Linked DNA regions of Homo sapiens: region 1 is linked to region 2. The links are contacts of gene promoters, found by promoter capture Hi-C in blood cells and fetal thymus (Javierre and others, 2016). All regions are on one chromosome and are shown on one strand. Each heading gives the region's core, a stretch centred on a gene start or on the middle of the fragment in contact. The rest is flanking DNA. Distances are from core to core; before and after follow the strand shown.

Evidence for each region. The method cuts DNA at HindIII sites, captures the fragments that hold promoters and counts their contacts. A CHiCAGO score of 5 or more calls a contact.
Region 1: a fragment that was not itself captured here is called in contact with the fragment with the promoter of GLDN in region 2 in 1 of 17 cell types (M1 macrophages); the score reaches 6.3 in M1 macrophages.

Annotation. Positions count from the first base shown.
Region 1 is chr15:51,178,069-51,183,131 of GRCh38, reverse strand. The region is part of intron 1 of MIR4713HG (MIR4713 host gene); the gene reads right to left. Among named protein-coding and RNA genes, the nearest start is that of MIR4713, 62 kb to the left of the region's middle. The HindIII fragment of the contact is 535 bases long and covers 2,645-3,179 here.
Region 2 is chr15:51,340,405-51,345,763 of GRCh38, reverse strand. GLDN (gliomedin) reads right to left here and starts at 4,109. Exons shown (of 10, transcript NM_181789.4): 1 at 3,717-4,109. The coding sequence starts at 4,079. RefSeq lists cis regulatory regions at 4,928-4,952, 5,025-5,068 and an enhancer at 4,758-5,121. The HindIII fragment of the contact is 3,655 bases long and covers 2,594-5,359 here.

The sequences.
Region 1 (5,063 bases), core at 1,663-4,162, 160 kb after region 2:
CCAGTTGTGGATCTCTTTCCTAATTTGGAGAATGAGGATAATACTACCTACATTATGGAGATGTCATGAGGATTAAATGATGTAACTTCTAACCCCCAGGTTTTACAGCTTAGAAGCCTAACCATAGATGATTCTAGAAGACAACCTCCTTGCCAGGTCACAACCAAACCATAGCCAGCTGAATGAACGTAGGGAGCTGAGTGAGCATTTTTGGGCTCCAAGTCTGTAGCAGGGACCGTAAGGGTGGGAGGGATGTCAGTGGGAGGGGACTCATGATGTCTTAAGACCTAGATAAGGGGTGGGAGCAGAATGGGAGCCTTCCCCAAATCCATTTTCCCTTTCTTCCTCACCAACAAAAGCCTGGTACTCAGGGTTTCAATGTGACCAGAAGAAAAACTATATTCTGCAGCCTACCCTATAGATAAGGATGGCCACAGAACTAAATTCTGGCCAATAATATATAGGCATAAGCTACTGAATGAGGCATTTGGGAAAGCTCCTTAAAGAAACAGCAGATTCATCTGGGAAGCCCTTTTGCATTTCCTCCTTCCTTTGCTAATTGGAACTCAGACATGAGGACAGGAGCTGCTGAGGCCATCTTGGAAGCATGAGGCAACCCTAAGGATGAGAGCACAGAGAGATAAAAGGTGCCTGTGGTAGCGATCTCCACCTCCAGACTTATTTTATGTAGGAGAAAAATAAAGCCCTATCACTTGTTTCAGGCCTGTTATTAGGGGAGTTTGGTAGCCAGCCTCCAAGGTGGCTCCCAGTGGTCCTCACTGGGACCACTGGGAGGATTTGTGCTCTTGTATAGCCCTTCCACATGTTGAATAGAACTGACCTGTGTAACCAATAGGATATTAAGAAAATGACAATTTGTGATTTCTAGGTCATAAAAGACATGGTGGGTTCTGCCTTGCTTTCTCCTGGATCACTCACTCTAGGGGAAGGCAACTGCCAGGTCATGAGGACACGCAAGCAGCCCTACAGAAAAGTCCACATGGCCAAGAATCAAGGCCTCCTGCCAATAGTCAGCATCAACTTGCCAGCCCTGTGAATGAACACTTGGAAGCAGAGCCCCTGGCTCATGAAGCTCTCAGACAACTGAAACCCCAGTAACATCTTGAGCACAATCCCACTGGAGACCTTGAGTCAGAACCACCAAGTAAGCTGCTCCCAAACTTTTGATTCATAATAACTGTGTGAGATAATAAATGTTTATTGTTGTTTTAAGGCACTAAATTTATTATACAGTCATAAATAACTAATACATAGACATACTCAATTCCCAACTGATACGGAACCTAAAGAGGCAACTTGGAATGACCACACATGACACCCAAAAGACCTGCACTCTCCAACCTGCTGAAATCCCATCCAGAGAGGCACAGCTTCCCTCCTCCTCTCACTGCCTCCGTCTGGACATGTGGGAGACATGCAGCACCCTTCCTGTAGACTGCAGACACTGGTGCTAGCTGTAATCAAAGAAGTCAATCCATCCTATTCCACTTGAGGAGTGATCTCAGCCGGCTCTTTCTCCTCCCAACTTGCCCAGGTGCAGGAGTTCTCAGCCTCACACCACCTCACCCCTCACCACCCCAGCCCCACCATCTGTTATATAGTGGGCCTCCAGAGTTCTGGGCCATTGAAAGTGGGTTGTCCATGGGTGTCAGCTGGATGCTGAGCCAAGTTTGGGGGAACGGAGTCCCTGCAGCCAACTGCCTCTTGGCGGCAGTCCTCATTGGCCTCCTCAGTAGACAACTAGACATGTTAATTGAAACTGGTTCCCTTGTGATTTCTGGAACTAGAGAATTGAGCTGGAAACTCAAGTTATTTTCCCCAAAGTCATGAAAATTATTTCCAATATGAGGGGCTGGGAAATATGCTCATGTAATTCTTGAAAACTCTTCTTCTGTGTAAGAGACCTTTGAAGGTGAAACCAGAAATGTGCTGCTGCTTGTTTTCTGATTCTTTCCCCTCAAAGAAGATGCTAACTCTTCCCTAATTGCCATTAGAAAAGAGAAGAATTGTTCTCATTCCCTCCCTTCCATTGGCAGAGAGGAATGTCCACAAGATAGAAGGAAAAAAAAAAAAAGAGCACATGGTAGAGGTAGAGGAGAACATCAATTAAGAATACAAGTTGTATTAGTTGGAGTTCTCCAAAGAAACAGAATCAATAGGAGGGAGGATAGATAGATAGATTCTCAAATGAGATTTATTATAAGGAATTGGTTCACATGATGATAAAGACTAAGAAGTTCCATGGTCTGCCATCTGCAAGTTTTCCTCCTTACCCAGGAAAGCCAAGGGTGTAAACTTTAGTCAAAAGACCTGAGAACCAGCCACTCTGGTGGTGCAAGTCCCAGCCTAAGGGTAGGAGAAGACAAATGTGTCAGCTCAGCAGTTAGGCAAAGAGAAAGAATGCGACCTTCCTCTGCCATTCTGTTCTACTTAGGCCTTCAAGGGGTTGGATAAGGCCCACCCACCTTGGGAAGTATGATCTGCTTTATTCAGCCCACCAATTCAGATGTTACTCTCATCTGAAAACACTCTCAAAACACACCCAGAAATAATGTTTAACTGGCTATATGGGCATTCCAAGCCCTGTCAAGTTGACACCTAAAATTAACCATAAATAAAAGCTTATTTATGGAGCACATGCCACTCCTTGATCACACCTGATGCTCTGGGGACAAGGACCTCCGTACACATCCACACATCCAAAGATGTTTTCTCTTCCATCCTTTCTTCAATGCTTTTCTGCCCAGAATGGTCTTTTCTCAGTTTCATATGTGGCTAAGTCCTACTCCTACATTAAGACTCAGTTGGAGCCACCTCTCAGGATGTGTCAGGAGCCAGTGCTGCAGGCTCCCATGATCCCCATGCTCTCACCCACACCATGTTGTTCTCATAACCCTCTATGCACTGACCACCATGCTTACATCACTGACCTCTTAGGCCTCTACCCACCACATTACTCTGGGGATTTCTGGAGAACAGAACTTTCACTTCTGTCTTCCCAAAACCATCGTTTAGATTCTAGAACGGTGCCTAGCAAATAGTAGATGCTCAATAAACGTGTGGTGGGTGAGTAAATTGATTGGATAAATGAATAAATATGTAATATGCACTGCACAGTGGAACACCATCCCACCCACTCCATTTTATTTTTTTAAGCTTTAAACATTGCCCTCGAGAGAGATTTAGGGGCGGCTCCCTGGCCCGATAATTTCCCACTCTTAAAACTGGTCCTTAAACCACCACACTCAGGAGCAAGAATTCCAGACTACTTCATTTTTCTAACTCAGAATAATCCAGCTTTGACGACTCTCCGGAGTGGTGAGAAACTCAATCTCAGTCACATTTGGGGGTGTCAAAGTATAATTTCAAAATGCTAAAAATGTAACTTTCATATAAATATATAAGGAGCATGTGTCAAAAGATTTACATAATTCATTAATGAGAGAAGGCAGGATGAAAAAAACTGGCTCAAAGGATGACACAAGGAAATGATATATATAGAGAGTCAGTGATAAAAAGAGAACAGGGGAATGAGATTGCTAAATTAGATATGAAACTAGTTAATGCCCTACATAGCAATAAAACCATCACTCTTGGGGTTCCCTCCTCTACCAGACAGAAGCATTTTCACTTCAACCAGGCAAAAATCATTCACCTCCCTTCCATTTTTCTGCAAGCTAGCATCTAATGCTATAAATTTTGAACCTTAATGACTATAAATAGGAAGCTCAAAAAAGTTACCTTCCCCTAGAGAAGAAAAGTGAACTCTATACGGGAAACAATTCTACCTATAAAAAGGTTAAATGAGAAAGAGTTAAGTTGGGGATTTAGACATTTAAGACAGATGTGAAAACAAGACTAAATGATATTTAGTCACAATGTGTATATGCAGCAGGGGAGCACATGCAGGGCAGTGTGACCTAGTGAAGAAAGGACAATAAAGAGAGATTGTAACAGTGACGCTAGAGCCAACGTGTACATAAACAAGAGAAGGCGCAAGAGAGCTGGTGTTTTCAGACAGTGATCTGATGAAAAGACCAACAACTTATATTGGGCAAATATCCAACATGTGCCTTGATAAAATATTTATTATTATTATTATTTTTTTTTTAATTATACTTTAAGTTTTAGGGTACATGTGCACGTTGTGCAGGTTAGTTACATATGTATACATGTGCCATGCTGGTGCGCTGCACCCACTAACTCGTCATCTAGCATTAGGTATATCTCCCAATGCTATCCCTCCCCCCTCCCCCCTCCCCACCACAGTCCCCAGAGTGTGATATTCCCCTTCCTGTGTCCATGTGATCTCATTGTTCAATTCCCACCTATGAGTGAGAATATGCGGTATTTGGTTTTTTGTTCTTGCGATAGTTTACTGAGAATGATGGTTTCCAATTTCATCCATGTCCCTACAAAGGACATGAACTCATCATTTTTTATGGCTGCATAGTATTCCATGGTGTATATGTGCCACATTTTCTTGATCCAGTCTATCATTGTTGGACATTTGGGTTGGTTCCAAGTCTTTGCTATTGTGAATAATGCCGCAATAAACATACGTGTGCATGTGTCTTTATAGCAGCATGATTTATAGTCCTTTGGGTATATACCCAGTAATGGGATGGCTGGGTCAAATGGTATTTCTAGTTCTAGATCCCTGAGGAATCGCCACACTGACTTCCACAATGGTTGAACTAGTTTACAGTCCCACCAACAGTGTAAAAGTGTTCCTATTTCTCCACATCCTCTCCAGCACCTGTTGTTTCCTGACTTTTCAATGATTGCCATTCTAACTGGTGTGAGATGGTATCTCATAGTGGTTTTGATTTGCATTTCTCTGATGGCCAGTGATGATGAGCATTTTTTCATGTGTTTTTTGGCTGCATAAATGTCTTCTTTTGAGAAGTGTCTGTTCATGTCCCTCGCCCACTTTTTGATGGGGTTGTTTGTTTTTTTCTTGTAAATTTGTTTGAGTTCATTGTAGATTCTGGATATTAGCCCTTTGTCAGATGAGTAGGTTGCGAAAATTTTCTCCCATG
Region 2 (5,359 bases), core at 2,860-5,359:
TCTTGTTGCTCTGGCTGGTCCTCCTAGGACAATTCGAGATACTATTGGTGATAGTGGGCATCCCTGTCTTAATACTGATTTTAGTAGGACCATCTCCAGGATTTGACAGTTCAGTGGAAAGCTATAGTTTTGGGGGTGAGACACAATTACATTTTATCATGTTAAGAAAGAATACATTGATTCCCATTTTATTGCATGTTTTAAAAATCAAGCATTGATGTTAAATTTTATCAAATGCCTTTTCATCATTTGACTATTATGGAATCATATTTGCCTTCCTTAAAAGAACATTTGAATTGTAACTCCTGCTTTAAAGTAGCCAGGCTGATTTTCTTGTTAGAGAGGTGCCAAGGACATTTTGAACAATATCCTGGGCGTAGAAATGCATACAGTCCCTCAAGGACAACAATTATCATGGATACGTAATCACCAGTCTCAGTGTCTTATATCTTCTCTATGTTTGTTTAATTTATGAAAATATTTATGAAACTCCCTCTGGGTGCTTGACCCTAGATTTTGGACAAGTAAAGACAGGATGATAAAGCTACCAGAACATCAGCAAATGTGAGACAGGAAGAGAGGAATGAGAGAGGGTAGCTGATGGGAAGAGAACAAAAAGAATATGAGAGGAGGTCAGAGAAAAAGAGAGTAAACAGAAGTAGCATCTCCCACAGGAGTTAGTAGCAGATGGGTCAAATTTTCTCTCTCCCCGCTCACCAGATCCCCATTTCCTTATTGGCCTAATTCAGTAGTTTCCAAGCCCCATCCAGGGCTCCTCTTATTACTGTCTCCCAAAAGTATGCACATGGTTTTAAAGATTTAATGTGCTTCTTGGCTGTGTCAAATTAACTGTACTTAATAATTATCTTGCCTTTTTAATGAAGTCATTTACAGCTGCCAACCAGGTTCTGGTAAGAATGTGCTCAGCTAAACAGAATTCTTATGCTGAGTTGATGTATTTTCAGCCAACAGTAGAGAAACTCAAAGTATCAGTTAAATTGAGGTTCATCTTGGATAAATGAACCATTCTGGAAGGCTTTTTGAAATGTTGACATTAGTCTGCATAGAGTTTGTTTCTTCGTTCCTAGACCTCTAAGGACATAAGACCTCACAGTGAGGACCTTGGATCTCACTCTCATTCAAGATCTGGTGGTGTATAAAAGGGCCAGGGAAGGTGTAGCCTTCACCTATAAGAAGTGTATACACTTGCCTCCACGATATATACTAGATCATTCTCTTAACTTCTCTCCAAGAGCTACCAAATGATGTTTTTTATAAAATTGTTTTCTTATATGAATAATTGTTCTGAGAAAAGCAGAGAGTAAAGATGAGGAAAACTGTGAAGCTGAATGGAAAGAATATTGCTGTCATAAATTAAAAAGCTTTTCAGTAATAAAATTGGCTCCTCGTCCTGAAGCAAAGGCCTTGATGGGGTCTGGTGGGAGTGTGATGCCTAACACAGCTACTATCGATAGGAAGTTATGCCAAGGTCCTTCCTGCTGGAGAATAAGCACTCCATCCCCAGGCTGTGGCCTAACAAATTAATTCAGAATCTCTGGGGATGGGATTCAGGCATCAGTAAGTTTGAAAGCTCCCCAAATAGTTCCAGTAGGCAACCTTACTACTCAAAATGTGGTCTTCAGGCCAGTAGCATTGGTAGCAGTGGGAGCTTGGTAGAAACGCAGAATCTTAGGCCCCAGCTTAGACCATCTGAATCAGAATCTGCATATTAACAAGATCCCCAAGATATTCCTGTGCACAATAAAGACTCAGTGTTAGAGACTGAGTAGTATTTCTTAAAGTGTGGTGCCTGGACCATCTGCACCGAACTCACCAATGGCATAGGAGGTGGGGGGATGAGGGTCAGAGGACTTCTAATAAAGCAGATTCTGGAGAGGATTCTATAGGTCTGAGGGAGAGGCCCTGGAATCTGCACTGTAATATGCTTCCAGCTGATTCCTAAGCCTACTGTTTGAGAACTGCTCCCAAGAGGAAAGTGAGTAGTAAGATGATTGCCTTCTCCTAGCCTCAGGGACAGGCCCTCATGACTCTAAAAGGTCAAAACATACCCATTGCAGGTGGGGGATGAGTTAGTTGATGATAATCTACTAATAATATCCAGTCTGACACATGTGATAGTTCTGCTCTCTGACCTGTAACAGAGTTAGTGGTAGCACTGCGAGGTCACCTAGAGTTAATTTGACACAGAGATGAGTGTCTCCATTCAATTTGTTAGTGACGGAATAGGTTGCAATTCGGATACGAAAGCTTCTACCTTAAAAGCAGGATTAAAAATGTAAAACAATGATGCTCAGATGTATCCCTTTTTGAGGATTTTTTAAAAGCCTTAAAATGTAGGGTAGAGAGCTGAAAGGGCGAGAATGAATTCCCCTAAGGAGGTTTTTTTCATCTTATAGCAGTCCTTTTTTGAAACTTCTGCTTAGGTCCAGATTTTTAAATGATAACATGAATTTAAAAAACAAATGAAGTGAGGAATGGAAAACTTGATCTCTCTCAAAAGATGTATTTGAAGTATGTAGTACTTTTACGTAGTTTTAAAAGCATTTCAGCTCATGTAAGTTATTTAAAAGCTTCTGTGATAACGGAAGTTTAAGTCAATTTATTTTCAAATACCTAGGATTCTGAAGTATGGCTCACACTTGACTGGAGGTAATAGCCGAAATCTTTCTAATTATAAAGTGAAACAAGACTGTTGCAATTGTAATAAATAATGAAATGGAATGGGGAACTGCAATGTGATCTAATAGTATTTGTTAAATACCTATTGAATTAAAAGCGGCAAAAGCAAAGAAACTTAACACTGGAAAACAAATCTTTGAGGCTTTGAAGACTTTCTTCAGAGCAGTGTTTCTTAAACCTTTTGGGGGAGGCATGCAATGGGGGACCCCTTGAAGATCTAGTGAAAAGCTGCAGACCCTCATCCACATGGGCAGGAGGGCACAGGCACACACACTTGGCAATTTCTGCAGTTCCGTGTACTCCCTGGAGCCCAGTGGGGAGACCAATCCGCAGGTCCCATGTTAAGAACCTCAGCTTTGACACTGCATTTTAAGAAAAAAATTGCACCATATTGACGTCCCTCATTTGGAATTGCTTGAGATCCAGGGGCAACTTTCCCAGCATCTAGGTCCCAGGTGGGCAGTAAAACTAGGGCTGTTTTCACTTAAACGGAAACAATTAGGCCGGCCATCTCGCAGGAATGAGGCGATGCCAGGTGAAAAGCCAGACCACTAGTTGATGCCAGGGAAAGAATCCCTTTATTGAAAAAGCCTACGCTCTTTCAGAAACGCGCCTCCATCCTCTCAGAGGGCCCCACCCACAGGTCAGTGGCACAGGCGGAGCCCCAAGGCTGCTGCGGCTCCATTCACACCAGGAGACGAAAACTTGTCTAAGCTGAGAAGGAAAATAGGCTCTTAGAAACACTGCCTTCGCCCTTCGTTTACATGTGGACTCAAAGAATGTCAGAGGTAGAAGAGACTCCCTCCTTCACCCTGTCCCCAACCTCACAGATGAGAAAACAGACTCCAGTGGGTTGAGGTGCTTGCCAAGGTGACATCCCCAGCTACTCATGCCCACAGCCCTCTCCGCAGCACCTCGCAGCCTGGCCAGGGGAGAAGAGGGCGTCGGCGTCCTCGCCCCACACCCCCAGCCGCCCACCTGGCCGGGGCGCCACGGGGAACAGAGACCCCGCCTACCGGCACCATGGAGTAGGTCATCATCATCAGCATGTCATGGCTCTCGGCGCGGATATGCGGCGCGGGCTCGCCGCTGTGGCTGCGCTTGTTGCGAGCTGAGCTGGCCGGGTCTTGGGGTGGTGCGGACGCCCCGCGCGGCGCGCGGCTCAACTCGGCCAGGAAGGAGCGCAGGGCACTGTCCTCGCGCTGCTCCCGGCCCCGCTGCGCCTCCAAAGCCCGCAGCGCCGAGCTCAGCCCGCGCCACTGGCACAGCGCGAACACCGTGCCCGCAGCGTTGAGCGCCGAGAGCAGCGCCACGGCCGCCAGGGCGCCACGCAGGCCCCAACCCGCGTCCCCACGGCCTCCCTCAGCGCCTCGGGCCATGCTCTATGCGCCTTGGGCAGGGCAGGGCTTGGCAGCCTGCGGCCCTGGCAGCCTTTATACGCCTCGGGCAAGCCGTGGGCTGGTGGCAGCGTCGTGAGTCAAGTCACCCTTTGGCCCAGCTGGCGGGGCGGGATGGGGACAGTAGTGGTGGCGCCCGAGCAGCCCAGAGGGACAGGCGGGCAGAAGCAGGAGAGGAGCCAGTGGAGGCAGCCTGCGGAGGAGGGGCTGGCAGGGCTCGTGCTCCCAGAGTCCCGCCAGCTGAGCAAACCCTCTCCTCCTCTTCCCACTGCTCTGCCTGAGGGCATTGCCGTGGCCCAGACAGGCAAAGCAAGGGTCAGACTGAGGGGGAGAGCAGGAATTCTTATGGAGAGAAGTCTCCGGATTCCACCCCCTTCTACCCCCACACTGCCCTCTTGGAGAAAAAGATCAGCATGCCCAGATGCTAAGGCACGTGCCCACTGTCCATGGGAGGTCTGGTCCTGGCCCGAGCACCAGGCTGCGCATCACTCCCCACCATGGCCATGAGGCTCCACGAGGCCACTGAAGACCCCAGATGATCTTTCCCAGGAAGGGGATGGATAGGGGCAAGGAGACACTTGGCACTGGAAGGCAAAAAAGGCCACCCATCAGAACCAGAAAAGCCCAGGACTGCCTGGCCAACAGGACTCGTCCTTGAAAGGAGAGTTCCAGGATTTGACAAGTCAGGAACTCTCCGATGAGATCCATATCTGGAAAATGGCAGGATGGTGAGGAAAAAAACCCCAGGAATCAGGAGACCTAGTTCTAAAGCCACTCTGTTGCTACTCAGCTGGGAGGCTTTGAGCATGTCCCAAGACCATGAGGAGGTGCTTTCTGGCCTAAGGGTTGGAGAGCTGGGCCATGGTTGGGTTCTTACCTAGCCCTAGGAAAACATGTTTTCCCATGCCTCTCATTTACTCCTCACAACTTTTATGTTGCCCAATACCTGCTCTGCCTCGAGGGTCACTGTCAACCAAATGCAGAGTCACTTTTGAGTCTCCTCAGAGAACCTCTTCACTCAAGATCTTTCTCAGCTTCTCCTAGAATGGCTCTGCTTCCCTGGGGCCCCAGGACCTATGGGAAACTAACGTAGACAGCAATCTTCAAGCCCCATGTTAAGAACCTCGGGTTTGACATTGTTTAAGAAAAAAAAAAAATCACTCTGTTTGGATGTCTCCCATTTGGGAGACCCAACCAGAAGGCAGGATTGCTGTTTCCATAGCCCAATAACTCAAGGAAGAGGTGCCTCCCCGCCAATGAGC